Regions from separate parts of the Homo sapiens genome. Here region 2 is linked to region 1. Evidence: promoter capture Hi-C in human tissues and cell types (Jung and others, 2019). All regions are on one chromosome and are shown on one strand. Each heading gives the region's core, a stretch centred on a gene start or on the middle of the fragment in contact. The rest is flanking DNA. Distances are from core to core; before and after follow the strand shown. Region 1 holds the start of PHC3 (polyhomeotic homolog 3). Region 2 overlaps PRKCI (protein kinase C iota).

The links. Contacts are between HindIII fragments. The study calls those that stand out against the background at their distance.
Region 2: a fragment that was not itself captured here is called in contact with the fragment with the promoter of PHC3 in region 1 in 2 of the 25 tissues and cell types used here (mesenchymal stem cells and ovary).

The regions. Positions count from the first base shown.
Region 1 is chr3:170,179,138-170,184,730 of GRCh38, reverse strand. PHC3 (polyhomeotic homolog 3) reads left to right here and starts at 2,998. Exons shown (of 15, transcript NM_024947.4): 1 at 2,998-3,029. The coding sequence starts at 3,016. RefSeq lists silencers at 2,844-2,983, 3,454-3,533. The HindIII fragment of the contact is 20,619 bases long and covers 1-5,593 here.
Region 2 is chr3:170,291,356-170,296,948 of GRCh38, reverse strand. It overlaps PRKCI (protein kinase C iota), which reads right to left. Exons shown (of 18, transcript NM_002740.6): 13 at 5,008-5,095; 14 at 3,441-3,566; 15 at 959-1,038. Among named protein-coding and RNA genes, the nearest start is that of SKIL, 64 kb to the left of the region's middle. The HindIII fragment of the contact is 9,133 bases long and covers 1-5,593 here.

The sequences.
Region 1 (5,593 bases), core at 1,749-4,248:
GCCTCCTGGGTTCGAGTGATTATCCTGCCTCAGCCTCCCCGAGTAGCTGGGATTACAGGCGCCTGCCACCATGCCCAGCTAATTTTTGTAGTTTTAGTAGAGACCGGGTTTTACCATGCTGGCCAGGCTGGTCTCGAACTCCTGACCTCAGGCGATCCGCCCATCTTGGCCTCCCAAAGTGCTGGGATTACAGGCATGAGCCACCGTGACCGGACATATATTCTCATTTTTAAAGGCAATCTGTACGAGGTAACACTAGGGATATAGGACCTAGATGTTCAAGTGAAAGGAGGATAAAAAAAGAACAATTTTGGCCTATGTATTCCAAATACATCTTTGATTTATGCATTTTCCATGTTTAGGCCTAAGACTGTGCTTTCTTCACTTTTGTTTCTCTAAACAAAATAGTTTCAGCAATACCAATGTATAGTTGATTCTTGAAAGTTTTGTGTTTTTTTTTTTTTTTTTTAGACGGAGTCTCGCTTTATTGGCAGGCTGGAGGGCAGTGGCACCATCCCCGCTCACCACAACCTCCATCTCCTGGGTTCAAGCAATCATCGTGCCTCAGCCTCCGGAGTAGCTGGGATTACAGGCACACGCCACTACCGCCCGGCTAATTTTTGTATTTTTTGTAGAGATGGGGTTTCACCATATTGGCCAGGCTGGTCTTGAACTCCTGACGTTTGGTGATCCACCCGCCTTGGCCTCCCAAAGTGCTGGGATTACAGGCATGAGCCACCGCGCCCGGCCGATTCTTGGAAGTTTAATAAAAGGCCGGGTGCAATGGCTCACGCCTGTAATCCTAGCACTTTGAGAGGCTGAGGCCAGTGGATCACCTGATGTCAGGAGTGCAAGACCAGCCTGGCCAACATGGTGAAACCCCGTCTCTACCAAAAATATAGAAAAAGTTTGCTGGGTGTGGTGGCACGTGCCCGTAATCCCAGCTACTCGGAAGGCCGAGGCAGGAGAATCGCTTGAATCCGGGAGGCGGAGGTTGTGGTGAGCCGAGATCTCATCATTGCACTCCAACCCGGGCGACAGAGTAATACTCCGTCTCAATTTAAAAAAAAAAAGTTTAATAACAATGATATATGAGCAAGTCAGAATGAAAGAAAAAGCAGTAATATTTTAAAGCATCTACAAGGACTTTTTATTTTCTTTTGAGATGGAGTCTCAGTCTCTTTCCCAGGCTGTAATGAAGTGGCACTGTCTCCCTGCAACCTCCATCTCCCAGGTTCAGGCGATTCTCCTGCCTCAGCCTCTGGAGTAGCTGGGATTATAGGCAGGTGCCACTACACCCGGCTAATTCTTGTATTTTTAGTAGAGACAGGGTTTCACCATGTTGGCCAGGCTGGTCTTGAACTCCTGACCTCAGGTTATCCGCCTTCCTCGGCCCCCCAAATTGCTGGTATAACAGGAGTGAGCCTCTGTGCCTGGTCTACAGGGACTTTTAAAAGGAGACTTTCTCAATGAATTCTAGAAGTAGTAGTAGATAGTACTGCTATTAGGTAGACAAGGTAAAAAAAAAAGATGTTATCAGATGGGAAAAGTGGGCAAAGGGACAATTTAAGCTCACATAGATGGGAAGTGTTCTTTTCCCTTCCTTAGGCACATCCTGGCATATAGGATTTCTAAGACTAAGTATACTTTTCATCAGACCATATTACACTTCCGGATGGATTTATATCAATACTTCATTCTCAGTTCTTGAAATTATTGTGACTCCATCACCTCACAAAATGCAAAAAGAGACATTGTTTATGGTTCGTATGCTTTTTTTTTCCTGTAAAGGGAGGTAAAGATTTATTATACACCTTGAACTTTAAACTTTCCAAAGCACTTAATAGATCTGTTTCAGAACACTTTTTCCTCAGCCTCCTGAGTAGCTGGGATGACAGGTGCGCGCCACGACATCCGGATAATTTTTGTATTTTTTGTAGAGATGGGATTTCCCCATGTTGCCCAGGGTGGTCTCAAACTCCCGGGCTCAAGCAATCCTCCCAACTTCACTTCCCAAAGTGCTGGTATTATGAGGGTGAGCCATCGTCCCGGTCTTCAGAACACATTATATTGTATGCAAATGTCTATAAAACCCGCTCCGCTACTTCTTGGAAGACAAGGACTCATCTTTATTATTTCATATTTATATTTAAATGTGTTATTTTACTTATCTTTATATGTTTGTCTCACACACCTGAGTTGTTGGCATTTAGCAGACTACACTAGCAAACTGGTGGCTGTTCCTGCTTGTTCCTTGTGGTGTTCAAGTTTGCAATTCCTACTAAGCGCTCAGCAAATTCATACTGAAGACATGAATGATATGCCTAGGGTAGTCAGGATGATTCCTTAACCACTCATTCACTGGCATCTGAACACTATCTTTCAGCTGGAGAGAGGTACTGCTGGTTGGGACCCTCAAGCCCCAAAGCTCCCAGGCAACAAGCCCTGCAGCCAGCCCTGAATTTCCTTTCTCCCTGAGACCTCAGCCTCTAATCCTCGTGGGTATTTTCTTTGAAACCACTCTGCAGTTTGCATAGGCTTTGGTATATTTTAGATATTCTTCAAAATTATTATTATTATTATTATTATTGTTGGGCTTTTTTTTGGTAGAGTCAGGGTCTCACTTTATTGTCAAGGCTGGTCCTGAACTCCTCGCTTCAAGAGATCCTCCTCAACCTCCCAGAGTGCTGGGATTACAGGTGAGCCACCGCGCCCATATTCTTTAAATTTTAAATTTAACAATCTAAGATAACTTTTTATATCTTTATTACAGATATCTCCCCAAGAGGAAGATCCTGGAGGAGAGAAAGAGAGGGGTTTGGAGAGGAGACACTGGTTATCTTAGTGGGGGAAATCTGGTCACTTTCCAGAAAGAGCAATTCCTATGGTGGGCGGGGGCGATTGGAAGCTGAGGACGCCACGTGACCTCTGGCTCCGGGGGCTGAGCCGACCCCGCCTCTCCGCCCGCCGCCGGGGGGCGCATGCGCAGCCCATGTTAGTGATGGAGGAGAGAAGATGGCGGAAGCGGAGTGAGTGACTAGATGGTGACTGATGTCGTAACTAGGGGGGGCGAGTTGGGGCAGCGACACGTTCCCCCAGGGGAAAGCTCAGGGCTCTTTTGCGGGCAGTGTGGGGAAAGAGAGACTCGAGACCCGTCCTATCGTGGAGGAGCCGGCTAGGCCCGTGTCGCGGGGCGAAGACGAACTCTAGGGTCCAGTTACCCTCCAGGCAGGAGCGCCCCTTCCGCCATCAGGTCCCGGATCTGCGCGGCCCTGCGCGCAGGGTCACCCTTGGGACTCCGGGAGCTGGGGTTTTCCGGGGAACGAGCCCGGGTGGGCTCCTCAGGCGCTGTCATTCCTGCAAGTGGGCCCCGCGGGCAGCCTTGTTACGGCTGCCTGCGCAGGGGCCCGCGGAGGCTGGGTAGGGCAGGGCGGGCACTGCCAGGCCTCCTTCGCCTTCTTCTCCTTCCCGCCCCGGCGCCACCCCACTCCTCCTCAGCGGGAGAATCCGACACGCGGGGCTGCCCGCTTCCCTCGTGCCGGAGGCATCCCGGCGTGGGCCTGAGAGCGGCGGGGGCTGCTTGCAGGTCTGGTGAGGCTGAAAACACCCTGAAAGAAAGGTCTTTCCCTCGATTCTCTGGGTGCAGCGTTGCTGCCTCACACGCGGGCCACATTCTTGTGTGTCGGTGTGACGGTATGTTTAGTTAACGACTCCAGAACTTACTGTTTCCTGGGTAGGCCTCTTGTGCACCAGAACTGCTGGCTGTATTTTGCAGGTATTAGTATGCCTAGACGGTGGAGTTACCAAAGTTGTTCTTTTGTGCCAGGCCTCGAAATGCAGTGCGATGGTTTGGCCAGTTCCGCTCAACCGATGTTTAGACTTATGCCGAGAATTTGGATTCTCTGTGACCATTTTTGGTTAGGAGTTAGAACTGTTTACCATACTGTTTGGATTGGAGGGCATAGTTGAGCAGATTAACACTTTTAAAAAACCAGAACTTAAGCTGGCCTTTTGCATGTCACTGGTACACGATACGGTAGTAGTATGACAGGCAGCAGTTCGGTAAAAAGTTTACCTTACCTACCACTAATACTGTATAATGTTGAACAGTTACCATATGATGCTGTGATTTGATTGGAAGGCAGTTTGGAAAAAAAAAAAAAAAACAGAAGCATAAAAATGTATGAATTATTTACTAATCCAAAAAGTAAGTGAGGAGTCAGCTTTCTTCCTGACGGTTTTCCTTTCACTTTTCCTCTTATTTTCTTTTTCTTTCTTTGTGACAGCGTCTCTCACTCTTATCTCCCAGGCTGGAGTGCAGTGGCACGATCATAGCTCACTGCAGCCTGGCCCTCTTGGGCTCAAGCGATTTCCCCACCTTAGCCTCTCAAGTTGCTGGGACCACAGTCCTGTGCCACCAGGCCTGGCTAATTTTTTATTTTTCATTTGTAGAGACAGGGTTTCCCTATGTTGCCCAGGCTGGCTTTGAACGCCTAAGCTCAAGCAGTCCTCCCCCTGAGTGGTAGGATGACAGGTGTGAACCGCCACTCAAGGCCCCCACTTTTCCTTTTTTTTTTTTTTTGTTCGGTTTTTTTTTACATTTGGTTCCTCAGAGAATATAAATACTGTTTACATACGTAATATAGAACAAAGAAAATTTGTACTTAAAAAAGCAACGCTATGGTAATAGTGTATGTGTACCAATTAGTGCCAGATTCATTTGTTTTTTCATGGAATAGAAAGTGTTCTTACATTTTTATCAGTGCTGCTAATGTGGGGTGGGTGGGATTTAGTTTCTCAGAAGAAAAGACCGATAAGAAAAGGGAGATAAAACCAGTATAATCTCTTGTGTGCTTTTCACCTTCGAGGTACATTTCTGGCCCGACAAAAACTACTGCTCTTCTGGTTTCTAACAATATGGAGGTCCTTAGAATTGACTTAAAGTGTTTGAATTTATTCAAATACAGATTCTGTATTTAGTGGAATTTTGTACCACAACAAGTAAGATTATAGTATTGGAGGGAAGAAAGTCTGGTATAAAAGTGTACTTTACTGTCCATACATGAGGAAGTGACATAATTTATGTTTTCAAAATCTGGAGTAATTCTTTGTGAAAAAGATTTTGTAAGGGTATGGGAAGTTGCTGTTTGCTGCTTCTCTGTGTTCTCACAGCAATCTGCTAATAAGTATAACTCAGCTATTAGAAGTAGTAAGGACAGCGTTGTAGACTGATTAGGGGAAAAGCCAGTGTGAGTTAAAAAAATTACTTTTTAACATTTTTTAAAAAGAACTTATTTTTAAGCAAAGTTTATATGGTAAACTAAACTAAGCTAGTTAACATGAGTCCCTAGGCATTCTGTTCTAATGTATAGGTAAGAATGACTTTAGTTTGTAATTAGTGTGGTCAAAAGAATGTAAAGAAATGTTTTAAAATACTCTGATACTGCTTAAATTTTTATTTTCCTAGGTAGTTTAGTATTCTCTCATTACCTGTTTTGGTTTAAAAAAAATCTTTCGGTAATGCAAAGATAAACTTTTGGCTATGCGTTATCTGAGTTACGTATTCTGAATCATTTGAATTCAAATGTAGTAG
Region 2 (5,593 bases), core at 2,304-4,803, 110 kb before region 1:
AGTTTGTTTTTAGCTTAATTTAAAATCCCCATGCCCAATTATAGCAACAAACCACCACCTGTGTAAGACAATGATACAACCATTATCTGAATCACTGGACTGAGGAGCCTGCAACTTATAAAAAGTCTTGGCTTATTCATCACTATGAATGAGAATATGTTCCCATTTTTCTTTCTGATAAAAGGTATTTTATTTTGCATATCAACACCTCTTGCCTTCATTTTTCACTATGTGAAAAATTAGGTTTCAAGTTTAAATCTTTCCTCACATAAATTGTTCATTTTTTAAAAGGCTTCAATTTCTTATTTTATTAAAACTCATTATCTTATCTATTTACCTTAGAAGGTAAATGTACATCAACTTTTCTATCATACCATTTATTTAAAGTAGAATTTATAATTGCCAAGACCACACTCCTAGATCCTAAAACTCCTCTAGCCTACCAACAGCAACAAACAATTGAATGATGTTCACATTTTTAAGAGCCAAAGATAGCATTTCATTTCTTCCGAATCTTACCTAATTATAGCATTTTTGACATGAGAATTTGTAGGGAGCACTGCGGCCCACGTGCTCAAAAAGTACATGGTAATAAATAGATTCTATGGATAATGATACAGAGAAAATGGAAACAGAGTTCAAAGTACAATTATGGCTAAACCCAAAGATTAACTCTTCCCCTATGTGAGAATATGGTATATATTATTTACACATACACAAAAATTATGTAATATATAGCTGGGGAGTAAATTTTATTGCCAAAATGGAAAGGACAACTAACTTATCTCAGGATCTAATGCTGTCAATTACTCTTTGGGTAAGAGACAAATTCTGGGTCAAACTGAAAAAGTTACATTCTCTACTGTTTTGGAATTTTACATTTCCCAAACCGCTACTGACCAGTTTGATATATATAGAAAGAGACAAATCACAAAATATTCTTATACACAATTTATACCTTATTAAGAAAACTCTTCAGAACACTTGCAGCTTTTACAGACAGAGAACGTGGTATGCGAATTTGTTTTTCCAAAATAACTAGAAAGATAAAAATTATAGTATTATATTTAACTTTTACATGGCTTTAATCTTTTTTCTTCTTTTTTGAAAGGGGCTTGTTCTGTTGCCCAGGTTGGAGTGCAGTGATGCAATCACAGCTCACTGCAGCTTTGACCTCCCGGGCTTAAGCAATCCTTCCACCTCAACCTCCCAAGTAGCTGGGACCACAGGCGCCACCATCACGCTCGGCTAAATTTTTTTTTTTTTTTTTTTTGAGATGGAGTCTTGTTTTGTCATCCAGGCTGGAGCACAGTGGCACGATCTCAGCTCACTGCAACCTCTGCCTCCCGGGTTCAAGTGCTTCTACCACTTCAGCCTCCTGAGTAGCTGGGATTACAGGCGTGTGCCACTATGCCCAGTGAGTTTTGTGTTTTTGGTAGAGATGGGGTTTCACCATGCTGGCCGGGCTGGTCTCAAACTCCTGACCTCATGAAGGTAAGTGATCCGCCCACCTCAGCCTCCCAAAGTGCTGGGATTACAGGTGTGAGCCACTGCGCCCAGCAATGGCTGGCTAATTTTAAATTTTTTTGTAGAGATAAGGGTCTCACCATATTGCTCAAGCTGGTCTTGAACTCCTGGGTTCAAGCAATCCTCCTGCCTTGGACTCCCAAAGTGCTGGGATTACAGGTGTGAACCACTGCACCTGGCAATCTTTAAATTTCTTTTTTCTTTTTTTTTTGAGACAGAGTGTCACTGTCTTGCCCAGACTGGAGTGCAGTGGCACGATCTCAGCTCACTGCAACCTCCGCCTCCAGGCTGAAGTGATTCTCCTGCCTGAGCCTCCTGAGTAGTTAGGATTACAGGTGCCCGCCACGACGCCCAGCTAATTTTTTTTTATTTTTAGTAGAGACGGGGTTTTGCCATGTTGGCCAGGCTGGTCTCAAACTCCTAACCTCAAGTGATCCGCCCATCTCGGCCTCCCAAAGTGCTGGGATTACAGATGTGAGCCACTATGCCTGGGTGCAATCTTTAAATTTTTATTATAAGATATTTAAGGCATTCCAGGAAAAAAAATAAGATATTACATATATAACTGAAGTGCCTCCTGTACTTTCCTAAACCCCTTCTTTTCCCATCTTCTCAGAGAAAGCCTCTAATCTGAATACTATTTATCATTTACATGAATGTCTTATTCTTTGACTACCTAATTATGCCTCAGTTTCCTCATCTGTAAAATAGGAATAAAAAAATACTTCATAGGATTGTTATGAGGTTTAAATGAGTTAACATTTGTAAAATGCTTAGCATATATAATATGCAATTTTTTTGGACACTGCCAAATTATTCTTTAAAGCTGTTGTGTCAGTTTTCATTCCTACCAGCAGTCTAGAAGAGTTCCAGTTGCTCCACATCCTCACCAGCACTGGTATTACCCAACTTTAATATTTTGATCAAATGTACCGATATGAAATGGTAACTCATTAACATTTAATGTGCATTCCCTTAATTGCTAGTGAGACTGAATGTCTTTTCACATATTCCATGGCCATTTGGGCATGAAATGCCTATTTATATCCTGTGATGGCTTTAATTATTAAATGTAGAATTTTATAGTAGTTTTCATACTTCTTTGGATTCTGTGCTAGAGGTCCCTGCACTTGTCTGCTTGTTTCTGTCAATTCTGTATATTCCCTGATGTGGGGCCTTTTTTCCCCATCTTTTGATCACTCATCATCTTGGTGCTCTATTTTCCCCTCATACTGTTCTTGAACTTATGCACTCAGCCTCAGGGTCCCTGTGTAAAGATTATCTCTCTAGCCACAGGATTCCTTTCTCCAATCTGTTTGTGATGGATAATTCTAAATAACCCCTGTTATGATTTTGAGTATGAGAAGGTAACTGTGAACAGGAGTGAAGACTATAGAAAAGAAAGAATGTATTAAAAAACATCAAAACCTAATACACAGAGGCCAGGTGCAGTGGCTCATGCCTGTAATCTCAGCATGCTGGGGAGGCTGAGGTGGGCAGATCACTTGAAGTCAGGAGTTCAAGACCAGCCTGGCCAACATGGTGAGACCCTGTCTCTACTAAAAATACAAAATTTAGCCGGGCATAGTGGTGTGTGCCTGTAATCCCAGTTACTCGGGAGTGTGCCTGTAATCCCAGTTACTCGGGAGGCTGAGGCAGAAGAATTGCTTGAACCAGGGAGGTGGAGGTTGCATGGAGCCGAGATTGCGCCCCTGCACTCCAGCCTGGGCAAAAGAGTGAGACCTTGTCTCAAAAACAAACAAAAACAACAACAAAACCTAATACCACCAGTCAGGATTATATTTTCCAGATTATGCTCATTTTTCTTACTCAAAGTAGTAACCTGAATCACTCTCATTTGTACTCTAGAATAGGTTTTTCTCAGAGAATCTCTGTAAAATACTCCAAATTACCTTGGAAGAGATAATCCTCTGTGTTCTGGTCAGGGTTATCGGAGCTCCCAACAATATCAAATGGAGACCTTCCTGCCATCATCTCAAACATGAGCACTCCAAGAGCCCACCAGTCAACACTGAAACCTTCAGAAAGAAATTTTAAAGCAATAAATTATACACTTTGCATTCTTGAAAGTTAGTAACTGGAAATTTTATCACATAAAGGAAAAAGAAACAATGAAAAAGTAAACTCTAAATGCATTCCAACTATCATGGTAGGCACTGAAGATTATAGAAATGCTTCATTTATCAACAAGGGTAGGTACCTAAAAGATAATTTTAAAAATAAAATTATGAGAAAAAAAAACTTTCTTTCTCCATGTATTTCTACTTTCAGACTCATGCCCAATATCTAATATTGTGTGTTGAGGATATAATTAAATTGTATTTCAGAGTAATCTCCTTGGTCTTTTTTTTTTTTTTTTTGAGATGGGGTCTCACTCTGTCGCCCAGGCTGGAGTGCAGTGGTGCAATCTCGGCTCACTGCAAGCTCCACCTCCCGGGTTCACGCCATTCTCCTGCCTCGGCCTCCCGAGTAGCTGAGACTACAGGCACCTGTGAACACGCCCGGCTAATTTTTTGTGTTTTCAGTAGAGACAGGGTTTCACCATGTTAGCCAGAATGGTCTCGATTTCCTGACCTCGTGATCCGCCTGCCTCGGCCTCCCAAAGTGCTGGGATTACAGGTGTGAGCCACCGCGCCCGGCTATATGTTGGCAACTGCTGGAGGTGTGGACAGGGGCTTTTTTTTTTTTTTTGAGACAGAGTTTCACTCTGTCGCCCAGGCTGGAGTGCAGTGGCACAATCTCGGTTCACTGCAAGCTCCGCCTCCCGGGTTCACGCCATTCTCCTGCCTCCTTGGTCTTAAACTTGATCTTTTGCTAGCTGATAAAGACCAGTGAAGGACAGTGGATTCAGACTTTGAGCAGCTCTCACAAGTACCACATTGTCCTTTATATCTGCTGAAGGCAGAGGGCCAAAACCCAAAAAGTCAAATGTTTTCTCAAGATAAGTGTATCTTCGGGTGCCTGAGATACAGTTAATCTTTCCACCATCTTTCAGATTCCTGGGGCAAATATCCCAGGAAATCTGAAAAATTTTCCAGGGGTTCATGACTCTGGAGTCACATGGGTGCTGTTCTGAATCCTTGACCTTAGGCGAGTTATTTAAACTTTCCGTATGTCAGTTTCTTCAACTGTAAAAGGAGAATTAATAGTACTTACCTCACAGGGTTGTTAAGAGGATTAACTTAGTTAATATATGTAAACTGCTTAGAATAGTGCCTGCTACTGTTTAGTGTTTGCCACTAATAAAATATTATTCAGCTTGGTACCCCCAAATACTGCCAAGGTCCCACTGTCTCGATTTCAAAGTCTGGGACTCTCCATGTAGTTTTTAACAGGATCAAGAATCCTTATATTAATAAGATCACGTCAAAATGCATTAGTGTACTGTAATGCAATTGGTACCACATTTTACCACCCATCTAGCAATAGCTAAAATAATACCACCAATTTATTTATTACCATAATCTTCTCCTCTTAAAATTTCAGGAGCAATGTAATTAGGAGTACCACAGAAAGTGCTGGTTGTATCTCCTGGCCGTAATCCTTCCTTTTATTAAAAAGAACAGAAAGAAAGAATGAGATAAAAAGTTCTGTTTTAAATTCACCCTTTCTATTTCACCTATCATATAAGTTCAGCATCTGCAGTGATACATTAAGCTCACTTAACATCACTAGAACAATTGCCTTTATTATTATTATTATTTTTGACAGGGTCTTGCTCTGTCGCCCAGGCTGGCATGCAGTGGCACGATCTCAGCTCACTACAACCTCCACCTCCTGGGTTCAAGCAATTCTTGTGTCTCAGCCTCCTGAGTAGCTGGAATTACAGGCATGCACCAACACACCCAGCTAATTTTTGTATTTTTAGTAGAGACAGGGTTTCACCATGTTGGCCAGGCTGGTCTCGATCTCCTGGCCTCAAGTGATCCACCTGCCTCGGCCTCCCAAAGTGCTGGGATTACAGGCATGAGCCATCATGCCTGGCAACTGCCTTTATTATTAAAATCACAGATCACCACTAAATAGCTTGAAGAAAACCTGTCCT